2 separate regions of the Homo sapiens genome follow, and region 1 is linked to region 2. The links are contacts of gene promoters, found by promoter capture Hi-C in human tissues and cell types (Jung and others, 2019). All regions are on one chromosome and are shown on one strand. Each heading gives the region's core, a stretch centred on a gene start or on the middle of the fragment in contact. The rest is flanking DNA. Distances are from core to core; before and after follow the strand shown.

What was found. Contacts are between HindIII fragments. The study calls those that stand out against the background at their distance.
Region 1: a contact is called between a fragment that was not itself captured here and the fragment with the promoter of RNF141 in region 2, in 1 of the 25 tissues and cell types used here (bladder).

The regions. Positions count from the first base shown.
Region 1 is chr11:9,678,225-9,684,564 of GRCh38, reverse strand. All of the region lies in intron 1 of SWAP70 (switching B cell complex subunit SWAP70), which reads right to left. It also overlaps the pseudogene RN7SKP50. Among named protein-coding and RNA genes, the nearest start is that of SWAP70, 17 kb to the right of the region's middle. RefSeq lists an enhancer at 5,514-6,053. The HindIII fragment of the contact is 4,845 bases long and covers 2,256-6,340 here.
Region 2 is chr11:10,538,433-10,544,324 of GRCh38, reverse strand. It overlaps RNF141 (ring finger protein 141), which reads left to right and starts at 3,138. Exons shown (of 6, transcript NM_016422.4): 1 at 3,138-3,203. IRAG1-AS1 (IRAG1 antisense RNA 1) reads right to left here and starts at 3,089. Exons shown (of 4, transcript NR_046375.1): 1 at 2,783-3,089. RefSeq lists an enhancer at 2,953-3,062. The HindIII fragment of the contact is 8,088 bases long and covers 1,044-5,892 here.

The sequences.
Region 1 (6,340 bases), core at 3,429-5,928, 860 kb after region 2:
GACTTCTGAGAAAAGGACACAATAAGAATTAACAAGCAGGTGTGAGAGAAGGCTCTATAACAGAAGAGGGGGCTCTGAGCTCCTTGACTATCACCTCCTTAGAAGTTTAATTTAGTACACTCATCTCCAAGAGAAAATGTGAAGTCACAGTGTGCATTCAAAGTGGTGACAAAGACCACAAATCTGGCTGGACGCAGTGGCTCATGCCCATAATCTCAACACTGGGAGGCTGAGGCAGGAGGATCACTTGAGGTCAGGAGTTTGGGACCAGCCCGGGCAACATAACAAGACCCTGTCTCTATGAAAAATATAAAAATTAGCAAGGCATGGTGGCGCACACCTGCAATCCCAACTGCTCAGCAGGCTGAGGTGGGAGGACCACTTGAGCCTAGGAGTTCAAGGTTGCAGTGAGCCATAACAGCACCACTGCACTCCAGCCTGGGTGACAGTGTAAGACCCTGTCTCAAAAAGAAAAATTTTTTAATTTAAGAAAGATCACAAATCTGAAGTCATTAAAATATACAGAAATCAAAAATATATAAAATAAAATTAAAAATAAAAGAATGAAAAAAAATCACAAATGTGAGGTTTCCCTCGGCTGCCCCACCTTCTCACCAACCTGACCCCGCATGGTCCCTAAAATATGACTTCTATCCCTATCAATCTCTTGAAATTGCTTTTCTAAATGGATTCTGAGGTAGACACAGAGATGCACCACTCAGATGCCCCCTCAAGTAGGTAACTGCTACCCAGCTACAAGGACTGTGTTAAGCTGATAGCCTCCAGCTACTTTCAGGGTCCCAGTGACAGAGCGGGGTGGTAGGATCACTTTTCCTCAATGTGGGAGTCCCATAAGGGGCAATCTTTGCTTCAGAGCTCCTGGTTTTGCCAAATCCATATGATGGTTTGACAGTTCCTTTTCCCAATTTCATTTCCTCTCTCCCACCCCACAGGTAACACTTTTGTATTCCTAACAGTGTCTTAACATTGGCTTCCTGGAGAACCCATGCTGGGACAGATACCTTCTGGCCAAGTCACTCTCCCAAAGGTCTGGCAGTTGGCAGTCTGAATCACCCCCTCCTCTTAGACGTTTTTGGTCCCTGACATACCATTTTCTTTTCTTTTCTTTTCTTTTTCTTCTTTTTTTTTGAGACAGGGTCTTGCTCTGTTACTCAGGCTGGAGTGCAGTAGCTCGATCTGGGCTCACCACAGGCTCGACCTCCTGGGCTCAAGCAATTCTCCCACCTCAGCCACCATCCCCCACCCCTCACCCCCAGCAGCTGGGACTACAGGCACCTGCCATCACACCCAGCTAATTTTTCTATTTTTTGTAGAAACAGGTTTCACCATGTTGTCCAGGCTGGTCTCAAACTCCTGAGCTCAAGCCATCCACCTGCCTCAGCCTCACAAGTGCTGGAATTACAGGCATGCGCCAGCGTACCCAGCCCAGACAGAATAGTTTCTAAGTTCTTCAAAGGTAAATTTATGCAGTCACATCCATCATCCCTCATTCTCCCAATCTGGTCATTTCCCAAAGATCAATTTTCAACCCTCAGTTCTACTTTAATTTCTTCTTAGAAAGTGCTTTTGACCAGGCACAGTGGCTCACACCTATAATCCCAGCACTTTAGGAGGCCAAGGCAGGTGATCACTTCAGGCCAGGAGTTTGAGACCAGCCTGCCAACATGGCAAAAACCCTGTATCTACTAAAAACATAAAAATTAGCTGGGCGTGGTGGCACATGCCTGTAATCCCAGCTACTTGGGAGGCTGAGGCATGAGAATCACTTGAACCCGGGAGGCGGAGGTTGCAGTGCGCACAGATTGTGTCACTGCACTCCTGCGTGGGCAACAGACGAAGACCCTGTCTCAAAAAAAAATAAAAATAAAAATAAAGACAAGACATTCTGTGTTTATGAATCAAAAGACTTAAATTTTTTCAAATTTTATATTTTATAAATCTAAACATTTATAAAAAGAAAAAAGAAAGTGATTTTATTCTGACAACCTTAAGTCATCTCTATTCAAATGATTCATAGATCTCTTTCTGGTCTTAACCTCTCCAGTAAGCTCTGGTTTATATCACTAAACAATACTAGAGATTTCTATTCTAAATCTGCCTCACGTCCAAAAGATCCAAATGAGATCTCATCACTTTTCTCCCCAAAATAGGTTTGCCACCCTGATTCTGACTTTGGTATCACCATTGCCTTAACAAAACTATGGTCTCTTCTTCTATCTCTTTTTCATACAGTTTGTCCACCTTCTGGATCTAATTCAGCCCCAGCCAATGCCAACTCCTGTCTCTACTGCGTGAGCCGCTCTGTCACCTTCAGGCTAACCAAGCAGAGAGTGTGAGGCTGGGGAAACAAGGGCTCCTCCCCTCACCTCCCAGTACAAGGTCCCATTCTCCCCTCTCAGGTCCTGTCAAAGAGTTGCTGCAGAACAACTACTCCTCAGGATATAACCATGGTAAACACATCAAGCTACAAGGTTCAGTTAGAAGGCTAAACCTCAAAGAGCATGTCTGCCACCCTACATTTTACAAATGAGGAAACTGAAGCCCAGCAAAGAGAAGTGATTTCCCATTACCACACAAGTAATGGAGTACAGGTAACTCTCCTTACTCCCCAACTCCTCTCTCTCTCAACACTTTTCATGTTCCTCTAAAGGTTTTACTTTCTGAATCTTTCATCATAGTATTCTCACAGGGGAATTTCATACATCCTTTTCAAGTTAGTGACAAATGTCTCCTCCTCTAGGAAGCATTCTCTGAGCTAACTCCTCATGTCCTCACCCCAAGCTAAATAGGTTCCCTTCCTCTGCATTCTGCCTTCTGTATCTCACTGTATTTGAATTGCCAGTTTGCTCATCTGTATCACTCACAAGATTTTAAGCTCTACAAGGGGAGGGTACATATCTGTTTTAATTTCCATAGCTACCACTACTGACCCACACTCACCAACTTACCCAGACTTCATAGCACCCCACTAACAAGTCCCCCAATCTCCAGCCTCTCACCTTTAGTCATTAAACCTACATCATCAGAATAATTTTAAAACCGTATCTCTGCCATATATCTACCTAAAAACTTTAAATGACTTACCCTCTTTACAGGGTCAATTCTGAACTAATTCTAAGACAGACTGTCAGTCAATAAACATATATTAGCCATATATTCTGTGCAAAAACATTCAATGACATCTAAAATGTAGCCCCATCTCTCTTTAAATCCTAATTCTCCACTATGCTTTAAAACAAACCTTCTACTCCACTCACAGTATTTCCTTTCTGCTCAAATACTCCAAGTTGAGGCTCTTGCTCTTAATTTACAGTGCTACCACCATATTTGTCACCTTTCTGCAATTATACTGGACAAGATCTGCCCCATTCTCTCAAGACCTTGAGAGCTTGTCTGGAGGTTCTAGCAGGTAAGCACAGCTACTCATATACCCTTGACCGAAGACTGGTCCTCCTCTATCGAGGATGGTCGTTCTCTTTGACTGAGCACACAGCATTGGGAGGGACGCACATGGAGTGGTGAGGGAGGAAGGGGACAACCACCTAGCCAGCCAGATCAGCGAAATCAACCCTGGTGATCAATGGGGTGACAGATATCACAGCCAGATCACCCTCACATTCGCCATTCTCTCAAGAAACAGCTGAAGTACTATCTCCTTCATGAAACTTTGTCTGCAACTGTCTATATCCTTTTCTCTATTTGCCATGGAAATATACCACAAACCACATATGAAATTTAGAATTTTTAAAGCCTCATTTTAAAAAAAGTAAAAGGGAATAGGTAATATTAACTTAAATACTATATCCAAAATATTGTAATTTAAACATGTAATCGGTATTTTTAAAAATGCCTGCAATCCCAGCACTTCAGGAGGCTGTGGCGGGTGGATCACCTGAGGTCAGGAGTTCGACACCAGCCTGGCCAACATGGTGAAACCCTTTCTCTACTAAAAACACAAAAATTATCCAGGCGTGGTAGCGGGCACCTGTAATACCAGCTATTCAGGAGGATGAGGCAGGAGAATCACTTGAACCCAGGAGGCGGAGGTTGCAGTGAGCCAAGATCATGCCATTACATTCCAGCCTGGGTGACAAGAGCGAAACTCCATCTCAAAATAAATAAATAAATAACGAGATATGTTACTCTTGTTTTGGTACTAAGTCTTTGAAATCCAATGCATATTTTATACTTAAAGTACATATCAACTCAGGCTCATGAATTTTCAAGCAGTCAACAGCCAAACGTGGCTACTGGCTAACACTGGATGGCACGGCTTAGAGTGGTCATCTTCTACACACTCTAGAACTTGTTTATATATTGCGTCATTGTGGTCATTTCATGTATTATCTTCTTGACTACATCACACAATCCTCAACTTAAGGGACAAGGCTGCATGTTTTTTTCTTCCCAGGGTGCCTAACAAAAAGTGTTCAGTAGCCTGAAACCTTCAAATTCATATAATGTTTTATACATTAGTTTTCTTCAACATCATTGTTTGGTAGAAAATAAGAAAGAATTTCTGCTGTCACATATAAAGGTTGTGAGCTCTATTATAATCTTAAAATATAAAAAGCAGGCCGCGTGCAGTGGCTCATGCCTGTAATCCCAGCACTCTGGAAGGCTGAGGCAGGCAGATCACAAGGTCAGGAGATCAAGACCATCCTGGCTAACATGGTGAAACCCTGTCTCTACTGAAAATACAAAAAAATTTGCCAGGCGTGGTGGCGGGCACCTGTAGTCCCAGCTACTCAGGAGGCTAAGGCAGGAGAATGGTGTGAACTTGGGAGGTGGAGCTTGCAGTGAGCTGAGATCGCACCACCACACTCCAGCCTGGGCAACAGAGCAAGACTCTGTCTCAAAAATAAATAAATACATAAATAAAAATATAAAAAATAAAAAGCAAAGGAAGCTTCCCAAAGTCACCCAGGTAAAGGACCTCAGAATTCCAATGTAGTCTGATCTACTAATTGTCTGCTGTCCTATTACCTAACAGTGTTTCTCAAATCATCACTGAAGACGATCACTGAGACTGGAGTCAGTTGCTCATCAAGCTACAAGGTTCAGTTAGAAGGCTAAATTTCAGGAAAACAGCCAGCTAGCTGAGTATCCATCACCCTAGGAACTGAAAGAATTGATGGAGATGTGCTGCCTGCCAAGGCTGACATGCCCCATCCTTCCAGAGCTGTCTGTAGAGTGGAATGTAATACCTTCCAACACTGTCCATATGACCAGAACAACTTTCATCCTAACTAGCGTCACTTCTGGCTGATACACCATGCCCACATAACACCATTCTCCTCCTTCAAATCAAATGTTGTAAAGCTAATTATTCCTAAAGAAGCAAAAGGTACAGAAAACAGAAGAGTCTTAAGATCAAAAAAATTAGTGTTTCTAATATTGCAGAAATCTCTCCTTAACCGCAAGATCTCCTTATATGAAATTCAAGTATACACACAGATTTCCATTTAAATATCTCTCCCTCAACTGCTGAAAACTGCAGTTTCCAGTAGACACAGATTTTGAGTTTAAAGAAAAGGAACACGAAGGTAGGATGAGAAGAAGGAAATGAAGCAGAAAGTAGAGCAGGAAAAATAGTTTCATGAAACGCAGTCTTGGGGAAGAAAAAGGAAGCTGAGGCAAGGATCTACCTTAGGCTTGTGTTGTGGGAGGGGAACAAGGACATGCCTAAGAGGGACTAAGGAAGCGAGTGAGAGTGCTAATGTGCTAATAATCACCACTGATGGGACTAAGGTTCTATAACCCTCACGGTGGGAAGGAATGAGAAATACCTATTGAGTGATGGCATGCTGAGTACCTGGGAGAAGGTCGCCTAAAGCCTCTTCTGTCTCTAGCTTTGTTACTATGTACCTCTGGGACTGTGATGAGACCCCAAAGGAAATACAAAATGGAGATCAGAGAGGTTAAGAACTCTGAGTCCTAAGATCAGAAATGTACTATTAAGATGGAAGGTCAAATACCAAAAAAAAAAAAAAAAAAAAAGCACCTCAGAGTTTACGTGTTATTTTCGATAAAAGTACATGTATTTCCCAAAAAAAAAAAAAAACATAAAAATGTCCAAGTTATCTCACTGAAAAGTTTCTAGCAAGTAAGGAATAGAAACTAGAAATAATCCAACATTCATTATCCTATTTTAAGATATCTAAATGTGTAATTTTCTCTTTATTTAGAGAGCTGCCCTTACTATTTTATTTTGGTGATATCTACATAAAAAATATTTACAAAGACTTTAGGCTGGGTGCAGTGGCTCATGCCTGTAATCCCAGCACTTTAATAGGCTCACTCAAGACTCTGATCCCCA
Region 2 (5,892 bases), core at 1,889-4,388:
GGCTGAAACACCCCCTCACTCCCCATGTTGCAAGCGATGAGAAGGACAGAAGAGAGAAGGAGAGAAGAGCTTTGACACTTCGAGAAGCCCAGACCTAAGAGCTCCCTGAGCCAGGACTGTAACACCCTCTTGGGGGCTCTGCATTTCCTGGCATCTCAAAGCTTCCAGGTGCCACCACATTCCCTAGTGCCAGCAGTGGAAGCCGCTTGTGGTACTCCTGGTCCAGCCACAGCTTTGCAGGAGCCAGCGCCCATGCCAGCACCTGGAGCCACCCGCCCCGCCACAGCTGGCGTGCCTAGCTGTGCACAGCGGCCAGACCTCGCGCTCACTTGCTCACGCACCCCTCACCACTTTGCGCCTGGCTCGTCCTTGGCAGGCATGGGATCTGGGCCAGTGGCATGAGCCGAGTGCAGCCTGCAAGGCCAAATGGGCAGAATGAGCCCAGTGGGCCTGAGCAAAACTCGGGCAAAGGAGCCACCGGCCACAGAGGTTTCTGGCTGGCAGAGCAACACTCCAAGGATCCTGTGACAGTATGAGGAAAGGAGCAAGATATTAAGAGTTTTTTGGCATATGCTATTCAATTTTTTCAGGTTTATTTGTTGAAAAGATTATCTTTTCCCCCACTGAATTGCCTTGGCATATTTGTCGAAAATCAATTGATGACATATGTATAGATACATCTCTGGGTTCTATATACTGTTCCATTACTCTATCTATTTTCATACCTATACTATACTGTGTTGAGTAGCTCTTATTATAATGTCTTGAGATCAGGTAGTGTAAGTCCCAAAACTTTGTTTTTTTTGATGAAAGTCTTGACTATCCTAGGTCCTTTGCATCTCCATATAAATTTTAGAATTAGTTTGGTCATTTCCATCAAAAAGAAATCTGCTAGAATTTTTATTGGAATTTCCTTAAATCTGTAGGTCAATTTAGGCAGAAGTGATATCTTAAAAATGCTCAGTCTTCTGATTCATGAACATAATGTATCTCTATTTATTTAGGTCTTCTTTAATTTCTCTTAACAATGTTTTTTATTTTATTTTAGATTCAGGGGGTACACGTGTAGTTTTGTTACATGGGTATATCGAACAATGCTGAGGTTTAGGCTTCTAATGATCCAGGTCACCCAAGTGGTGAACATAGTACCCAATAGTAGTTTTTTCTACCCTTTTGGAATCCCCAGTGTTTATTGTTCCCAACTTTGTGTCTGTGTACTCAACGTTTAGCTCCTACTTATAAGTGAGAACATGCGGTATTTGGTTTCCTGTTTCTGCATTATTTTGCTTAGGACAATGGCCTCCAGCTGTATTCATGTTGCTGCAAAAGATATGATCTAGTCCTTTTTGTGGTTGTATAGTATTCCATGGCGTATATGTACCACACTTTCTTTATCCAATCCACTATTGATAAGCACCTGGGTTGATTCCATGTCTTTGCTATTCCATAATATTTTATAGTTTTCAGTATACATGTCTTTCTCATCTTTGGTCAAATTTGTCCCAAATTTGCTGCTTTTTTTTTTTTTTTTTTTTTTGCTGATAAGAGATATTTAAAAATTTTCCATTTCTAATTGTTCATTGCTAGTATATAGAAATACAACTGATTTTTGTATATTTGATTTTGTATCTTGCAACTTTTGTAAACTCACTTATGAGTTCTAGCAGCTTTTTTGTAGTATTCCACAATTTTCTTATGCAAATAAATGCAGTGCTACAACTTCCTTTCCAACTTGGATGCCTTTTATATATTTGTCTTTTTTTATTTCATTGACCAGAACTTCCAATACAATGTTTAATTGAAGGCAATTTTTACAGAGTAATATTTCTAACTCCCAGGCCCGGATTAGGCTGAACTATGGAATCTTGTTGAATTTGATATCTTTTGGAATTTATTAAATCATTATTTATACTTCATTTTTAAGCTTTTTCCTTTTCCAGTGTTCAAATATTCATCAAATGTTCAAATATTGAACAAGTACCATGCTGGCTGTCAGGGAAATAATGGTGCACAAACAGGCATGGACCTAGCGCTAATGAAGTCTTACCGTACTACCGAGGCAGTTTAAAACAGGAATTAAAAACACAGGTTCAGGGTTCTGTCTGCTTGGGTTTGAATCTGGCTCTGCTCCTTAATGGTTGTTTGACCTTGGAAAAGTTAATCGACTTTTCTAAGCCTGTGTCTTAGTGAAGGTATTAATAATACCTACTCACAGGATTGCTGTGAAGATTAAACGAATTAATACCTTTAAAGTCCTTAAAATACGGTTTGACATATAGTAAATGGTCAAAGAGTATTATTATTAGAGGGAAGAATTAGCTCTTCACAAGGTGAATCTACAAGTGACTGGTGAAGGAGGGGTGTACAAACAAGAAACATAAAAACCAGTTTAACTGCTAAGCATAGAGGCAGCAGTGTCAGCTGTACCTGGGTTAAAATCCTTGCTCTGCTGTTTATTGTCTAGGCAACTTTGACCAGACGACTTAAACAAGAGCAATGCCCGTAAAGTGCCTAGTGCAGTATTTGGCACACAACAGATGCTTAAAAGACAGCAATTACTGATTCAGACGTCCCGCAGAGCAGTAATATCACTAACATGTGCTCATCATCATATCTATCATTTATCAAAGCTCAGGATTTTGAACCTTGTAATTACTTTTCATACATTCTCTTATGCTTAACAACTCGGCTAGGTGAACACAATCCATTGCCTCATAAAGAAACAAGATGACCTTTGTGTATCTATCATCAGTGGGGAGGCTGGAGGTCTGGGAAGTGGTACCTTGGAGCCCAACTGTTGACCAAACCAGGGCTCTCAGTGCGGCCTTGGTCGCCAGCGGGGCGCTCCACTTTCCGCTCCGGAGATGGCACCAGGAGAGATGGGAGTCTGCCAGGCTGTTTCCATGGCCACCTCATGAAGCCCCTGCTCCGGGAGCGTGACAGGCGAGACTCTCCTTCGCCGCCACCTCTCGTCTCAGATGACCATCTGGGCTCGAAAGCCCTCAGGAGCTGCGGAGCGCGGGTCGGTAGGGGCGCTGCAGAGGAAGGTTGGGCGCCGTCTCCCGGCAACGCGCGGGGGGCGGGGCTTTGCGTCACAGAGGTGCGACCGGGTCCCGGCCTGAGTCGCGGCCACCCGCAGGTCTGAGCTGTGGGCTGAGGCAGCGCAGCCGCTGCCGCAGGGTGCGCGATGCCTTGAACCTGGGGTGAGCTCCGCGGCGCTGTCCTTTCGTGTTTCCCTTGCTAGCTGCTCCAGGACTCTGGGTCTGGGAAGAGAAACCCCAGAGGGCCCTCCGCTGCCGAGCCAGGCTTCCGCGGGGAGACAGGCCTAGCCCCGCCGCCCTCCCCGGGCCTCGGATTGGGGCGTGGGGACGGCTGGGGAGGCCATTCTATTGACGCCCGTCTTCTGCCCGGCGGGTTCCAGTTGCCCGGGGTGGCGGTGGCTTGTCCCGCCTCGGGGTGGTTCTGAGGGACCCGGAGAGAGTTTTTCCTTCTCTATCCCAAAACGGTTGTTTGAATATTGCCGCCGGCTCAGTCATTCGGCCGCCGGACTTAGCTGTTGGTTAAATGTCCAGGTGCGCTTGAGGAGGGGCTGAGGCGGCGTAGCCAGAGCGAGCGCTAGGGTGGCCCGCGGGCTCGGTCTCCGCCGGGCTGGACACCCAAATAAGAAACCTTTTGCCTGGGACGATAGCTCAGAAATAGCCACGTCGATCTACTTAGCCAGCCCCACACTTATGAATTGGCTTAGGCTGCTACCCTTCCCAAAGGTCTTTCCTTGTCAAACTAGCTGCTACCTTGAGACCCGGCTAAGAAAAGAACGTTTTCTTGCTAATAATAAGAAGGTAGTGATTACACAGCAGGAGCAGAAGGCTTCTGTGTTAGCTTTTGAAATTATTCCTTCAGTTATTTGTCTCGGCGTTACAAAATGTGGATTTACGATTGTTATTGAAATCGATCCCTATGCCCCTTATTAAAGGTAGTGTACCTTTTATATTCTGACACTGTCCTATTTAGCGGTGCCAGCTAATTCAGTTCTTGCCTCTGGCATATATATAAAGCTGCTGGAACACTTTCAATTGTTTATAATTCTTACATCTTCAGCACGAATTTATTCGTTTTCACTCCCTTCTGCCCATTCTTCTTGCTATAAAATGACCTCTACCCATTCAGAATTTTGTCTGGGGGCATGAGCTGCCACCGGCCGACGATCCTAAATTAGTCACCTCCATGTCGAAGTCACCCGTCTGAGAAGTGATGCTTTCTGAATTCAGAGCTCAAAAATAGTATGGATTTTTATCCTTTTCTTTCACATTGCCTGACTTCAGTTTCTAGAACTTTTTCTCAAGAATATGACTATATGTTTCAAAAATTAATATTTGTCATTTGGTGTAAATGAACTTTATATTCGATGTGTGTAGCCTGATCCTTCTTGGTTCCCATCTAAATACAAACACGCTTTCCTTCCCAAAAAGGCAAGGGAGGTCCAGAGAGAATTCTTACAAGTCTAATATGCTTTTTCCAATATGAAATGCATTTAGTAAACACACTGTTACTGTGAGAAATCCATATTCTTAATCTCCTAGTACGGCACTCTATCCTTTTGTAGTTTCTCTCTCCTTCTCTCTCTAATATATATGTATGTATCTTTTTCTGATCAAGATCTTTGATTCTGGAACAGGCATTCTGGACTCTATAGTGACTCTGGCCTAATTATTTCACTATGTATCTATATTAACTTGTCTTGAAAAAAAAAAGTTGATATCTGTTTACAGATCTACAGTTTGAGTAAACAATGAGTAATAAAGTAAATAATATCCTTAGGGACCCAGTCAGTAGTACTTGGTATTTATTACTGATGTTAAAGTTGACTTGACAGTGAAAATCATTGATGTTTATTTCAATTAAATCCTTTTAGGTGAGGTTGATACAAAATTTGATGGAGAACTGGTTTCAGAGAGGTTTTTAAAATACTACAGTGCAGTACTTGTCATTTAGTCATTTTGGTGCATTTTCAGCCTTTTCCATTTTGCTTTAGTTATTTTATGAATGAATTATGGTTTAAATTTTTAGGAGTTTTTGAGCAGTTTTTTCGTTTTTGCTTTGCCAGTTACCCATGATGTAATTTTAATATTTTTATAAGGAATATTTGAACTTCCACAATTCATTTGTTAGAAAAATAAGTGATTCACTATGTACCACCCACTAGAGAATGTGGCATTTTTGGAATCCTTGATCTTGTGCATTTCAAAATAACAGTTCTTTATTTAGAAAATCCTTCAAATGCTTTTTGAAAGCATATTTTTATCTTGCAAAAAATGACTGTGTTATAGGTGGCACAATAATATGAGAGCTGCTAGTTCTTTGAGAAATCTTGACCAGAAATTCATCTTTTGTTGAATTCTGTGCCAGTGGTTTGCAAATTATGTTTCTATGCAATACCACTGTTGCATGGCCTAGGGGGGAGTATCTTGTTAAAATCAAATAGTAAATGTTTCCCAGTTTACATAAGCATTAATTTAATGACAGATTTTCACAGTTTTACATTTTCTTTCATACATATTTTTAACTTCTGCTTCTCTCCAACCTAGTACTAATAGATGACTGACCAAATTAACAAAAGTCAAAAGAATACTAAGTGAATAATAATAAAACAAAAACTGCCAATGGTATTTACTGCATTTATTCAGTAAACATCTATTGAGTGCTTGTGTATCTGCCAGAAGACAGACCATAGCTGCTGTCCTCAAGAAGCTCACTAGAGGGAAATGGCCAAGTGACTTAACGAATGTCATAGTATGATAGAAATATGTGCAGTCACCAAAGAGGGACACTGAAAAGCTGTGGTGGTTGACTAGAGGATGGCCTCAACAGATTGTTTTCGTGAACATGCACTCT